Regions from separate parts of the Homo sapiens genome. Here region 1 is linked to region 2. The links are contacts of gene promoters, found by promoter capture Hi-C in blood cells and fetal thymus (Javierre and others, 2016). All regions are on one chromosome and are shown on one strand. The core of a region is centred on a gene start or on the middle of the fragment in contact, and the rest is flanking DNA. Distances in the headings are between cores, read along the strand shown.

Region 1 (5,744 bases), core at 1,768-4,267, 750 kb after region 2:
GAACAGAGTGCAGTACACGTTGATATTAGCATTTGTTTTCAGCTGCACCTGTCACCATACTGAATTTCCAAACATTTTCATTACCTCAAAAAAGAAACCCCTCAGCCCTTAGCCATCATCTCCTAATTTTCCAAACCTACCCCCAGTCCTAGGCAACCCCTAACGTACTTGTTCTGTATAGATTTGCCTATTCTGGACATTTCATGTAAGTGGAATCATACATTATACCGTCCTTTGTGTCTGGTTTCATTTAACATTAGTGTATTATTCTATTCCCACGCTGCTAATAAAGACATACCTGAGACTGGGCAATTTAGAAGGGAAAGAGGTTTAGTTGACTCACAGTTCACCATGGCTGGGGAGGCCTCAGGAAACCGACAATCATGGCGGAAGGGGAAGCAAACATGTCCTTCTTCATGCTGGCAGGAAGAAGAAATGCGAGCGAAGGTGGGGAAAAGCCCCTTATAAAACCGTCGGATCTCGTGAGAACGCACTCACTATCACGAGGACAGCTTGAGGGTAATGGCTCCCATGATTCCATTACCTCCCACCAGGTTCTACCCACAACACATGGGGATTATGGGAACTGCAATTCAAGATACGATTTGGGTGGGGGGCACAGCCAAACCATATCAGTCAGTGTTTTTAAGATTTATTCATATTGTAGCATATTTGTATTTCACTCCTTTTCATGGAGAAAAAAAATCCCATTGTATGGATATACCACATTTTGTTTATCCATTCCTCAGCTGATGGACTTTTGGGTAGTTTCTGCTATTTGACTTCTATGAATAGTGCTGCTGTGAACATTCGTGTAGACATTTTTGAGTAGACATATATTTTATTTCTTTTGGGTACATACTGAAGAGTGGAGAGACATATTTTGCAGTACTTTTTTTCCTTTCTATCTGGAAGATTGAAGGGGAGTATTCCTTGGTGAGGTGGGCTCTGTCTGTGATAGAGAGGGCATTAAGTCAGAGGTAGGAATTGCTGATTAGAGTTCCAGGTCAGCGCCTGACTGGCCATGTGTTTGGAAGTTCACTCTGTTTCCTCAGCTGTAGAATGAAGTAGTTTTATCGGACAATCTTTAAGGTCGCTTCCAAGTTCAAATGTTCCAAGTTCAAACGTTTTCCTGAGTGAGATTGAAAGGCTTTCAAGATATGAAGGGAAATATTTCAAACAACTTGGACTTTAATATTTATTTATTTAATTAAGTTTTGTGTTTTTAATAAAAATAAATCTTTAAAAATTGTATGGCTATAGAACCAACCTTACTCAAATTTGTATTACCCAAGGACATCTACTTTAATATTTCGGTGTATTTCCTGTCGAATTTGCCCCTTTAGGTTGTTTAGTTGTTTATTGGGCTGTAGTCATGCTCAATGCACAGTTTTCTATGGGGATCCTGTTTTGATTGCCCTTCAGACTGGTCTTGATTTCACTTAATATGCTTCTAACTTTGGTTGAAGGACCTTTGAAAGTGAAAAGTCTTTTGAGTTAAGTGGTTTTGGTAAAGCCATGATAGTTTTGAAAGTGCAAAGGTGTTTCTGAAAGTATGTTACCTTCTAGAATAGTCAGTAGAAAGCTTCATATGTAGTAGGCAGAGATAAGGCTGTAAGTGTGTCAGAATCTAATAGTTCCATACCCCAGAGCAGCTAACCCACTTCTTCCTCCTGTGTTTTGGTGATTTAGAAGCCATCAAAATGCTTATTCCCTTTGCTGGGGTTCAGAAGCTGATGCCCCGAACTATGGTGCTTTGACATGCTGAACCGAGGAAGGAGCCTTGAGACCTCTCGGATCCCCCTTTCCCCACTTCTCCGTCTGCCCCAAAGCACAGGATAAAATTGTTCTCTGAAGTTCCCTTATCTGCCTAAAGTCCAGACCTGCTGAAGAAGAAAACAATTACTTCTGGTCACTTTCCTGAGTTTTCATTAACTGAACACATGTCTCAGAAAGAAAGATTCCAAGTCCATCAACACACTTTTATAGACTTGTCACAAACCATTGTCTGTTCTGCGGGCCCACGAGACATTGTCCCAGGCCATTGTATGTTCCTCGAGTCCATGGCATTCTCCTAAAAATGGTTTACTAACCCCCTAAAATAAGCCTCACTTCCCCATCTCCCTTTCTCCTCAGAAGGGTATATAACCATTAACCATCTGTACCTCATTGCGTGGTGGAGTAATCACTGTGTGATCCGCCTGCCTCCGTACACATTTATAAATGTGTATATGCCTCTTCTCCTGTTAACCTTCCTTTTGTTAGATGTGGCTTCTCATTCGGGAGGGGGTGTAGCTTTCAGGAAACCTGCAGAAGGTGAAGGGGAGGAGTTTTCCCTTGGCCTCTACACTTTCATAATGCTCAAAAAGTTTCTGATTGTGGTTTCAAATTATTTCCTGTGTTGGAGGAAGGTTGAACTTGTTTTTCTTTTTGCCTACTTTCTGGTTTTCAAGCTCAGCAACTTCATTAACTTTTCTAGCTCCTGAGAGACCACTCTGTGCAGTGAAGCAGGCTCTTCTGCCCTGAGGAAGGGGTTCATTCTTTCCCAGGGACCCTCTCCCTGGAGCTGCCTTGAGGCCAGAACACCTCCACACTGGCACCAAGTGTTTAGAGAGCCCTATTGTCAGCTGCCCCGGGATGTCATTTTTTCCTTCATGGTGAGGGTTAGTTGGCCATATACTCCCTCGCTTTCTTTTTTCCATTAAGAAAAATTCACGCCAACAAACTCAACTTTCTCAGGGTGGTCCTTGCATTTATGGTAAATATTGAAGGCTGATTTAGGACGAGGAAAGTGAACTATTCAGATCAGCTGCCCCTCCACGATAACTGCTTGACTTGCTCACCTAATCGCAGGTGCAACTGAGACAGAAGGATAACCATGTATTGTTCTTCAAAGGAGTGACCTCATCCATGGAGGAGTCACCTAGTAAATGCAAAATGCTGAGCAAGCAGATCCGATGCAGCTTCTCATTTGGGAGGGGGTGAACTGAAGAGAGAGACGTGAACAGGAAAAGCAATGGAAGCATCCTCATCCCTTGGCCATGGCAGTTATGGAAGGGTTCCAATACCCTCAGCTTCCCAGGACCATCCAGCAATAGTATTTATTGTCTTCATCTATGGTAAACACTTTCTGATAGGCCAAAATTGCACTGTCTCGTCTGATTTACAGAACCAGCTATCTCAAATGTGTAGTAATTGGAAAAAGTGGATGATGATGGTTTCAGTTTTCTTTTTCTTTCTTTCTTTCCTTTTTTTTTTTTTTTTTTTTTTTTTTTTTGAGACAGAGTCTCGCTTCTTCGCCCAGGCTGGAGTGCAGTGGCACAATCTCGGCTCACTGCAACCTCCTCCTCCCGGGTTCAAGCAATTCTCCTGCCTCAGCCTCCCCAGTAGCTGGGATTACAGGCATGTGTCACCACGCCCGGCTAATTTTTGTATTTTTAATAGAGACGAGGTTTCACCCTGTTGGTCAGGCTGGTCTCAAACTCGTGACCTCCAGTGATCCACCTGCTTCAGCCTCCCAAAGTGCTGGGATTACAGGCATGAGCCACCGTGCCTGGCTGGTTTCAGTTTTCATACAGCTTATTTTAGCACTTTGACACATCTTGCACTGTTACTTAATCTTATAATGTTATTTAATTGCTTTATGAGTGCCTAATTTAGCTTTTCAGCTAAACTGTAATCTTCTTAAGATCAGTATATGTGTGTCTATAAAATACATACCAGCATGACACTTTCAAAAATAAGATGGTTGATAAAATAATGGATAAAATGGATTCCTCCCCTCTTCCTTCTCTTCTTCCCTCCCTCCTTCCTCTCCCTTTTGTAGCACCTCCTGTCTCTTAGGCTGCTGATTTAATATTAGAAATGAGAACAGAAATGGCTAGGGTGGCATCTAGAACCATTATAAAATTCAAGGGCAGAATAGAATTTTGTAGACTTGATGATTTTTTGGAAATTTATTTTCTGGACATACTTCTTATCTATACAGGCTCCAGCCCATCTATTTCTTCCTTTCCGTGTGATCCATCCTTTTGTGGTTGATTGTCTCAGCAAGTAGAACTTCAAGTCAGAGTCCTGGGTTTTGGACTCATGATCTGGTTGGCTTTGCCACATAGATAGCTTTCACAACAGAGACTCACAACAGAGTGTGGCAGACCAGTGGGAGTCCACTACTACCCCTGGGCCTGCAGCTGAGAGCACATGCCCTGATGGGTTGTGGGTGATTGTCCTGCCTCTTTCAGCCTGTTTCCTCATCTGTAAAAGGGGAATAAATTATGGGCTCATGACGAGAACTCGATGAGAAAATGCAGGATGGATCTCAGAACAATGCCTGCCATATATTAAGCACTGAGTGGATATGTAACCATTTTCATGCCTAGATAGGCAGTTAATGAATATCATCATATACTGCCCAGGTTAGTGAACTTCCCTTATACCCTGAGAGCAGATGTAAGCTTCTAGAGGGTAGGAGCCATCAACTGCCTAGAATGTCCAGATATAGCATCACATATGGGGCCACTCAGTCGCTAAAATTGTGATGTGAGTGTTGTTCAGTAGCTTATTATCATGTCTGTCAGATGGAGCATCACATCAGACTTGGCAAACATGAGGAGCAAATATCCCTAAAGCAAGTCTAAAAACAAACTTCCATAAACCAAGTTATTCATGTCTTTCATCTGTTCTTGAGAATCTCCACCAATGGAGTAACCCAAAAGTCAAATAAAAAATTGTATATACCAAGATTTATAAGGAATAATTAAAAACCTTCCAAATGTTAAAATAGGCAAATGTAATTTAAGTAAATATTTAAGTAGTATATCATTTCTGTGTAACATTATGTACACTTTATAAACGTTTACTACAGTTTTAAGTAATATGGAAAAATTCTTAAGTTATCATGTGACCTGAAAACTATGCTGGAATAGCATTGCATATGCAGCATGAGCATGACTGTATTAAAATGGTTTTAGAAAATAGATTGGAGAGGCCGGGTGCGGTGGCTCACACCTGTAATCCCAGCACTTTGGGAGGCAGAGGCGGGCGGATCACAAGGTCAGGAGTTCGAGAGCAGCCTGGCCAATATGGTGAAACCTCGTTTCTATGAAAATGCAAAAATTAGCCGGGCATGGGGTTGGGTGCCTGTAGTTCCAGCTACTCGGGAAGCTGAGGCAGGAGAATTGCTTGAATCCTGGAGGTAGGTTGCAGTGAGCTGAGATCGTGCCACTGTACTCCAGCCTGAGTGACAGAGTGAGATTTCATCTCAAAAAAAAAAAAAGAAAAAGAAAATAGATTTGAGAGCTATACATCAAGATTTAACAGTGGTTGTCTTTGGATGATGGTAGGATTATGAATGAATTTTCCTCTCTAATTTTGCCTCTCTGTATTTTCCGTATTTATATATGTGTATTATTTTCACGGACGAAAAACTCAAACTTTTTCTTAAGAGGGAAATAATGTGCATAGATGGTGGACAGAAGCCATGGTATTTGGCTTGTATTTTTACAATGAAAAAAGGCCAAATGTGTAAGGCACAGAACTGAATTATTTGTTATGTATGAGAAGAGTGTGGTGTGAGCTCAATGAAAAACGCATTACTCTGGAGAGTTCGAGAGAAGTTTTGCTTTTTGAAGATTTTTGGAGAAGCAGCAAAAATGTAAAGTTCTAGGTAGTGCACATGAGCAAGTGCCAATTTTCTTTTCCAGCACCGAAGTTTGGTATTCTTAGCCATTCTGATTTTGGGTGAT
Region 2 (6,296 bases), core at 728-3,227:
ATGCGTCATCACACCCGGCAATTTTGTGTTTTTAGTAGAGATGAGGTTTCTCCACGTTGGTCAGGCTGGTCTCCAACTCCTGATCTCAGGTGATCCGCCCGCCTCTGCCTCCCAAAGTGCTGGGATTACAGGCATGAGCCACTGCGCCCAGCCTGTTTGCTTTTCTTTTAACTTCCTACCGCCCCATCCACAGGAAATCACAGTGTGATCACCATCACACAGCACTGAGGCCCACCACAGTGATGCCTCCAGCAGGCCTGGGAAAGCAGGGGTTAACTTTGATTTGGTTCTTTCCAAAGTCCTAAGAGGGGAGACTTTAGAAACCTGCTAAAACATCAACAGCAAAATAATTCTTTTACAAAACCCATTTGAATACTGGTAATTACAGAGCTCTAAATTAGGAACTTGGGAATGGCAGAAAGAGCCTCAAGGGGACTTCAAGGGACCAGGACAGATGCCCCTAAAGAGCTGTATCATTACTACGTAATAAAAAGTGTCGCATCATATTGGAGAAAAAGTATTTCAAAACGGGAATAAAAGATTTGCAGAGCTTTCTGAAAACAGTCTTTCCTGGTCCACCTTGTTCTCAAATACCTGGTAAGGTGGTGACCATTCTCATTCTCTTTCTCTCTCTGCCTGACACAGGGAAAAAAAATCATTTCGTCTCAGTCGTCAAAAGCCTCAATTTCCTCAACTCTGAAAAGGCCAGCTTTAATGTATGCCAAGCACAGTATTAGACCTCAAAAACCAAGACAGCTCCACGTGGCCACTCTAAACAGGACAGATTATCTGCCAGTATAATCGCCGGTTACAGAAACCCACAGTTTAACCACTCCATCACTTACAGCTGGCCTCGATTGTGGAAAGGCTGAGTGTCAGCAAGAACACCCCGAACCAGGATGCTCCCTAGAGTCTGATTCGTTCGTGAAAACACTCCATTAAAACTCTGTACCGAAACGCTGATAATCCACATGTAAAGGGAGAAAAGAGCTCCACATCCAAGAGACTCACCTACTTCGTTTTTTCTAACTCTGCAGGAAGGAGTGAAACCAGCATTACAGGGCTAAGACGTACTAATTCTACACTGATGCAGTAACTGGTAGGAGACATAATGTTTTAAGACATCATAGGTTTAAATAGGCGAGAGTTAAAAAACAGGTTCGAACAAGTTTATTTGCAAAGAGAGGCAGGAAGGTTCCAGCCCTACCCAGGCAGTCGTGCTAGTACCGAGCCAGGGTTGGGTCGGGAAATTCAGGAAGCAGGGCTGAGTTTTCCCTTCGCCCAGACCTGCGCCCGGTAGTTTGGAAGTCAGGCTTCGAGACATTCTCAAAGGTACAGAGCCCACGCTCGACTACGAGATGCCAAGCGCAACCTGCCTGGGTTGTTTGACCCGAGTTTTATTCAGGGCATAGCAAAGGAGACGGTGCCTAAACCCACTTTTCTTCCTGGATTCATCCGACAAGCAGAGTGGAGAGGGCTACGGAGCTCAGCGCTATTCACCAGTGCTCGGCGCAAGAGGCGACACGCCCCTGGAGCAGTCGGGATCCTCCGCCCGAGCCCGGCACGCCCCGCTCCACGCGGAGTCCCGGAGGCCGGACGGGAAGACCCCGGGGTAGCCTCTCGGGCTTCCCCCTGCCCCTTCCCGCCCGCCCAGGGCACAGGATTTCCCGGACGGCTGAGCGCCGCGGGGCCAGCCCGAGCGACCCACCCGGGCCCTACGTTCGGCCGCGGAGCTGGGAGCGCACCCAGGCAGGTCCTCCACGCCTGGACTCCTGGCCCGGTTCTCCGATCTGACAACCCCCGCGCTGCGCCCGGCCTCGCTCACCTGGCCCGCACAGCACTGAGCTGACATCGCGGCGGCCAATGCCGAAGGCGCGCTCGCTGGCTCCCCGCGCCGCACGGGCCCTCCTGGCTGCCTCGCGCCTCGAGCGCTGGGCTCAGCCGCAGCTCACACTTGAACGAAGATCAGCCTCGGCGAAGCGCCTAGGCGCCGAGGCCTGGGTAAAAACAACTGCGGCCAAGCCCCGCCCCGCCGCCGGCCCCGCCTCGCCCGCCCCCAGCCCCGCCCCGTGCCCGCCCCTTCCCGGGCGCCCGGCGGCGGAGCAGGCTCGACCCGGGCTCGCACTTCCGCTGGCGTCAGGCGGGTGGGCTGCTGCGATCACTTCCCGGTTGGGGCGCCGAGCTCCGGAGTCGGCCGCCAGCCTTTGGGCCCCACGCTCCGGGTCTGGTGCGCGGTCTGGCCGCGCTCGGGCCCTCGCCAAATGAGAGCGCAGCGCCTCTCCGCCTTCGGATCCAGAGAAAGAGCTTGTTGCTGCCTCTAAAAGGTTGGAGCCTTAGTAAGCGGTTCCTGCCTTTCCTGCACAGACCAGACCGCCGGGTGCTGGTCTGCGCTCTGCCGCGCGCCGACTGGGACAGCCCACCCACGAGATCCTTGTTCCTGAAATCCCTTTCCTTCCCTCATCTGCCAAGAAAACTTTCAACTTTTGGGCTCTCCGCGCCTCCCAAGCTTCCTCGAATCCCTGGGCCCTTGACTGTTCTGCCCTGATGGCACTTGGTGAGAGATCCATTGAGAGCCCTTTCCGTGCCTTCCTGAATATTGATATGTTTTCCAGCCTCTCCTCCTGCGCTGGCCCAAGGACTCATTTTCCGTCCCTGCTTCCTCACTAAAAAGAGGGTGCCCAATAATTGCTTGTTCCATACAGAAGGCAGGGAGGCCGTCTCTAGGTTTTCTCCCACTCAGATCTGCTGTCCTCACAGCCACCTCCCCAAGAGGAATGAAGGTATTTCTTTTTTTTTTTTCTTTTTTTTCTCTGAGACGGAGCTTCACTCTGTCGCCCAGGCTGGAGTGCAGTGACGCGATCTCGGCTCACTGCAACCTCTGCCTCCCGAGTAGCTGGGATTACAGGCGCCTGCCACCACGCCCGGCTAATTTTTTGTATTTTTAGTAGAGACGGGGTTTCACCATCTTGGCCAGGCTGGTCTCGAACTCCTGACCTCAGGTGATCCGCCCGCCTCGGCCTCCCAAAGTGCTGGGATTACAGGCGTGAGCCACCGCGCCCTGCCGGAATGAAGATATTTCTGTTAGTGCGATTTTTGCGCCAATCCCTTTGCTCTTTCAAATAAGCATTACCGTACCCATTTTAGCGGTGAGGCAACTGAAGCCCAGAGAGGTTAAATAACTTGCCCAAAGCCTCACAGCAAAGTTGAGGAAGTAAAACTGGGCCTGGAATCCACTCGTCTGATCCCCTGGCACATGACGCAAGGCTTGACCTTAGAGGGACTCGTTTCCAGACAGAGCTCTGGCAAAGGAGTGTCTTGGGCAGCTTAGGAGTAGAAGAGGAAAGGTGAATGGAAACCAGGCCTTGGGTTATGAGCTGCGCAGGATTTTCCAGCATCTCAGATGCAGGCGTTTAGAGAAAGAGATATAATGGAGCAGGCCCTACTCAGAGCCACGAAAAGGAATGAGGACAGTTGGCTCTAACTCAAAACAAAAATAGGGTAAACCCAATCAGTCAAGCGCAGCAACCTGCTCCGTGGCGATCTGTGACTCATCAGAAGCTGAGGCTCTCACCAGGACTTTCTAATGAGCTTCGCTGTTGGCTACGACCGCGGTCACTTCACTTCAGCCCTACTCCTGGCCTGGGGAAATGGGCAGGCCCCCTAGTAGCTCGGGGTGGGGAGACGGGTGGAGAGGAAGGAGGGGCGAAAAGGGAAGGCGCGAAATCTACAAATGTTTAAGCCAGCTGGAACTCCGATGCCTCTTTGCCTTTTAGGGAAATTGACTCGACTCGGAACTCGAGGACCTTTCACAAGAGACCACTGGGTTAGGGGGCAGAGCTGGTAATAGAATCCAGCGCTCCGAACCCTGAATCATGTCCTCTTTTTGCTGCTGAGGCTCAGGCCACAGCACCCCAAATTATGACTGTAGAATACCAAAATATGCTATCCCAAAATACACTTGTTTGGCACATTTCAAGCTGGTTATTCTGAGAAACTGCAGACACGGGAGTAGCTCTGAAAAGCTGTCCTTTTGTAAAGCAAATTTACATCTATAAAGGAAGTCCACATAGTAAAAGTATCTGTGTCAGGAAGGCAGCTGCTCAGAGAACTTTTATTACATGAGAGACTTTACATAACAAGGCAACTTTTTTTTTTTTTTTTTTTTTTTTTTTTGAGGCAGAGTCTCGCTCAGTCGCCCAGGCTGGAGTGCATTGGCATGATCCCGGCTCACTGCAACCTCCGCCCCCCGGGTTCAAGCGATTCTCCGGCCTCAGCCTCTGAAGTAGCCGGGATTACAGGCGCGCGCCACCGCGCCCGGGTAATTTTTGTATTTTTAGTAGAGACGGGGTTTCACCATGTTGGTCAGGCTGGTCTCGAACTCCTGACCTCGTGATCCGCCCACCTCGGCCTCCCAAAGTGCTGGGATTACAGGTGTGAGCCACCGCGCGCAGCCACAAGGCAACATTATTTACCATACATTTCCTCCACTAACCCTCCTATATCCTACCTGTGGTGCCTCCCCACTGTCCCCACAGAAGCCCCAAGCCCTTATTTATTTCTAGCTCAGAATGCTATAAGCTTCAATCATCTGGCCCTTCATGTTTTGTGAGATTCCTGTGCTGCTGCGTATGCAGGTAATTAAAACGGTTTTTCTTCTGTTAATCTGTCTTATGTCGGCCAGGCGTGGTGGCTCATGCCTGTAATCCCAGCACTTTGGGAGGCCGAGGTGGGCGGATCACGAGGTCAGGAGTTTGAGACCAGCCTGACCAACATGGTGCAACCCCATCTCTACTAAAAATACAAAAGAAGTAGCCGGGCGAGGTGGTGCGCACCTGTAATCCCAGTTACTCAGAAGCTGAGGCAGGAGAATCGCTTGAACCCAGGAGGCGGAAGTTGCAGTTAGCCGAGATTGTGCCACAGCACTCCAGCCTGGGCGACAGAGCAAGATACCGTCTCAAAAAAAAAAAAAAAAATCTCTGTTATGTCAATTTAATTTGCAATCCAAGTAAAGAACCTAGAAGGGTAGAGGGAAGCCATTTTTCCCTCCCCTACATTGCTAGTTCCATGCCAATGTGAGAGGACTCTGAGAATGTGGATGTCTGCCACCTGGAGAAAGAGTCTTAATAACCTGGGCACTTGGCCAGGCACGGTGGCTCACACCTGTCATCCCAGCATTTTCAGAGGCAAAGGTGGGTGGATCACCTGTGGTTAGGAGTTCAAGACCAGCCTGGCCAACATGGCGAAACCCTGTCTCTACTAAAAATACAAAAATTAGCCAGGCAGGGTGGTGGGCACCTGTAATTTCAGCTACTCAGGAGGCTGAGGCAGGAGAATCACTTGAACCCAGGAGGCGGAGGTTGCAGTTAGCCTAGATGGTGCCATTGCACCCCAGCCTGGGCAACAAGAGCAAAATTCTATCTCAATAGATAAATAAATAAATAACCTGGGGACTTGTAGCCTCTATTGAAAGGTACCAGAAAAGGATAAAGCCTGAGTTTTCAAGCCAGGAAGTTGCAAATTCTAACTCTACCAAGAAGTAGCTGGGTGACCTCCAAGCCTCAGTTTCCTCATCTTCAAAACCAGGTTAATAGTGTCAGAGGCATTTGAACCAGAGAGACTCCATCTTGAATAGGGACTGGGTAAAATAAGGCTGTGACCTGCTGGGCTGTATTCCCAGGAAGTTAAGGCATTCTTCGAGGATGAGATGGTGGGGGTCAGCACAAGATACAGGTCACAAAGACCTTGCTGGTAAAATAGGATGTAGTAAAGGAGCCGGCCAAAACCCATCAAAATCAAGATGGCGACCAAAGTGAGCTCTGGTCGTGCCCACTGCTCATTATACACTAATTATAATTCATTAGCATGCTAAAAGACACTCCCACCAGCACCAGGACAGTTTACAAACATCAGGAAGTTACCCTATATGGTCTAAAGGAGGAGGAACCCTCAGTTCTGGGAATTGCCCATCCCTTTCGCGGAAAACTCATGAATAATCCACCCCTTGTTTAGCATATAATCAAGAAATAACTATAATTAGTTGAGCAGCCCATGCTGCAGCTCTGCCTATGGAGTAGCCATTCTTTACCTCCTTTACTTCTCTAATAAATTTGATTTCACTTTATGGACTTGCCCCAAATTCTTTCTTGCGTGAGGTTCAAGAACCCTCTCTTGTGGACTGGATGAGGACCCCACTCTGGTAACAATATACTTTTTGTCCAGTCACATTTCTACATGGCTGTCCATACTCTGTTGAATGTAAGCATAAGAATGGACAATTTTGCTGTATCTTTGGATCT

The links. The method cuts DNA at HindIII sites, captures the fragments that hold promoters and counts their contacts. A CHiCAGO score of 5 or more calls a contact.
Region 1: a fragment that was not itself captured here is called in contact with the fragment with the promoter of SERINC5 in region 2 in 1 of 17 cell types (activated CD4 T cells); the score reaches 7.3 in activated CD4 T cells.

What each region holds. Positions count from the first base shown.
Region 1 is chr5:81,004,892-81,010,635 of GRCh38, forward strand. The region is part of intron 1 of RASGRF2 (Ras protein specific guanine nucleotide releasing factor 2); the gene reads left to right. Among named protein-coding and RNA genes, the nearest start is that of RASGRF2-AS1, 47 kb to the left of the region's middle. The HindIII fragment of the contact is 2,869 bases long and covers 1,584-4,452 here.
Region 2 is chr5:80,254,071-80,260,366 of GRCh38, forward strand. SERINC5 (serine incorporator 5) reads right to left here and starts at 1,978. Exons shown (of 12, transcript NM_001174072.3): 1 at 1,826-1,978. The coding sequence starts at 1,852. RefSeq lists silencers at 1,461-1,740, 1,851-2,290 and enhancers at 2,144-3,077, 3,078-4,011, 4,012-4,943. The HindIII fragment of the contact is 9,277 bases long and covers 1-2,504 here.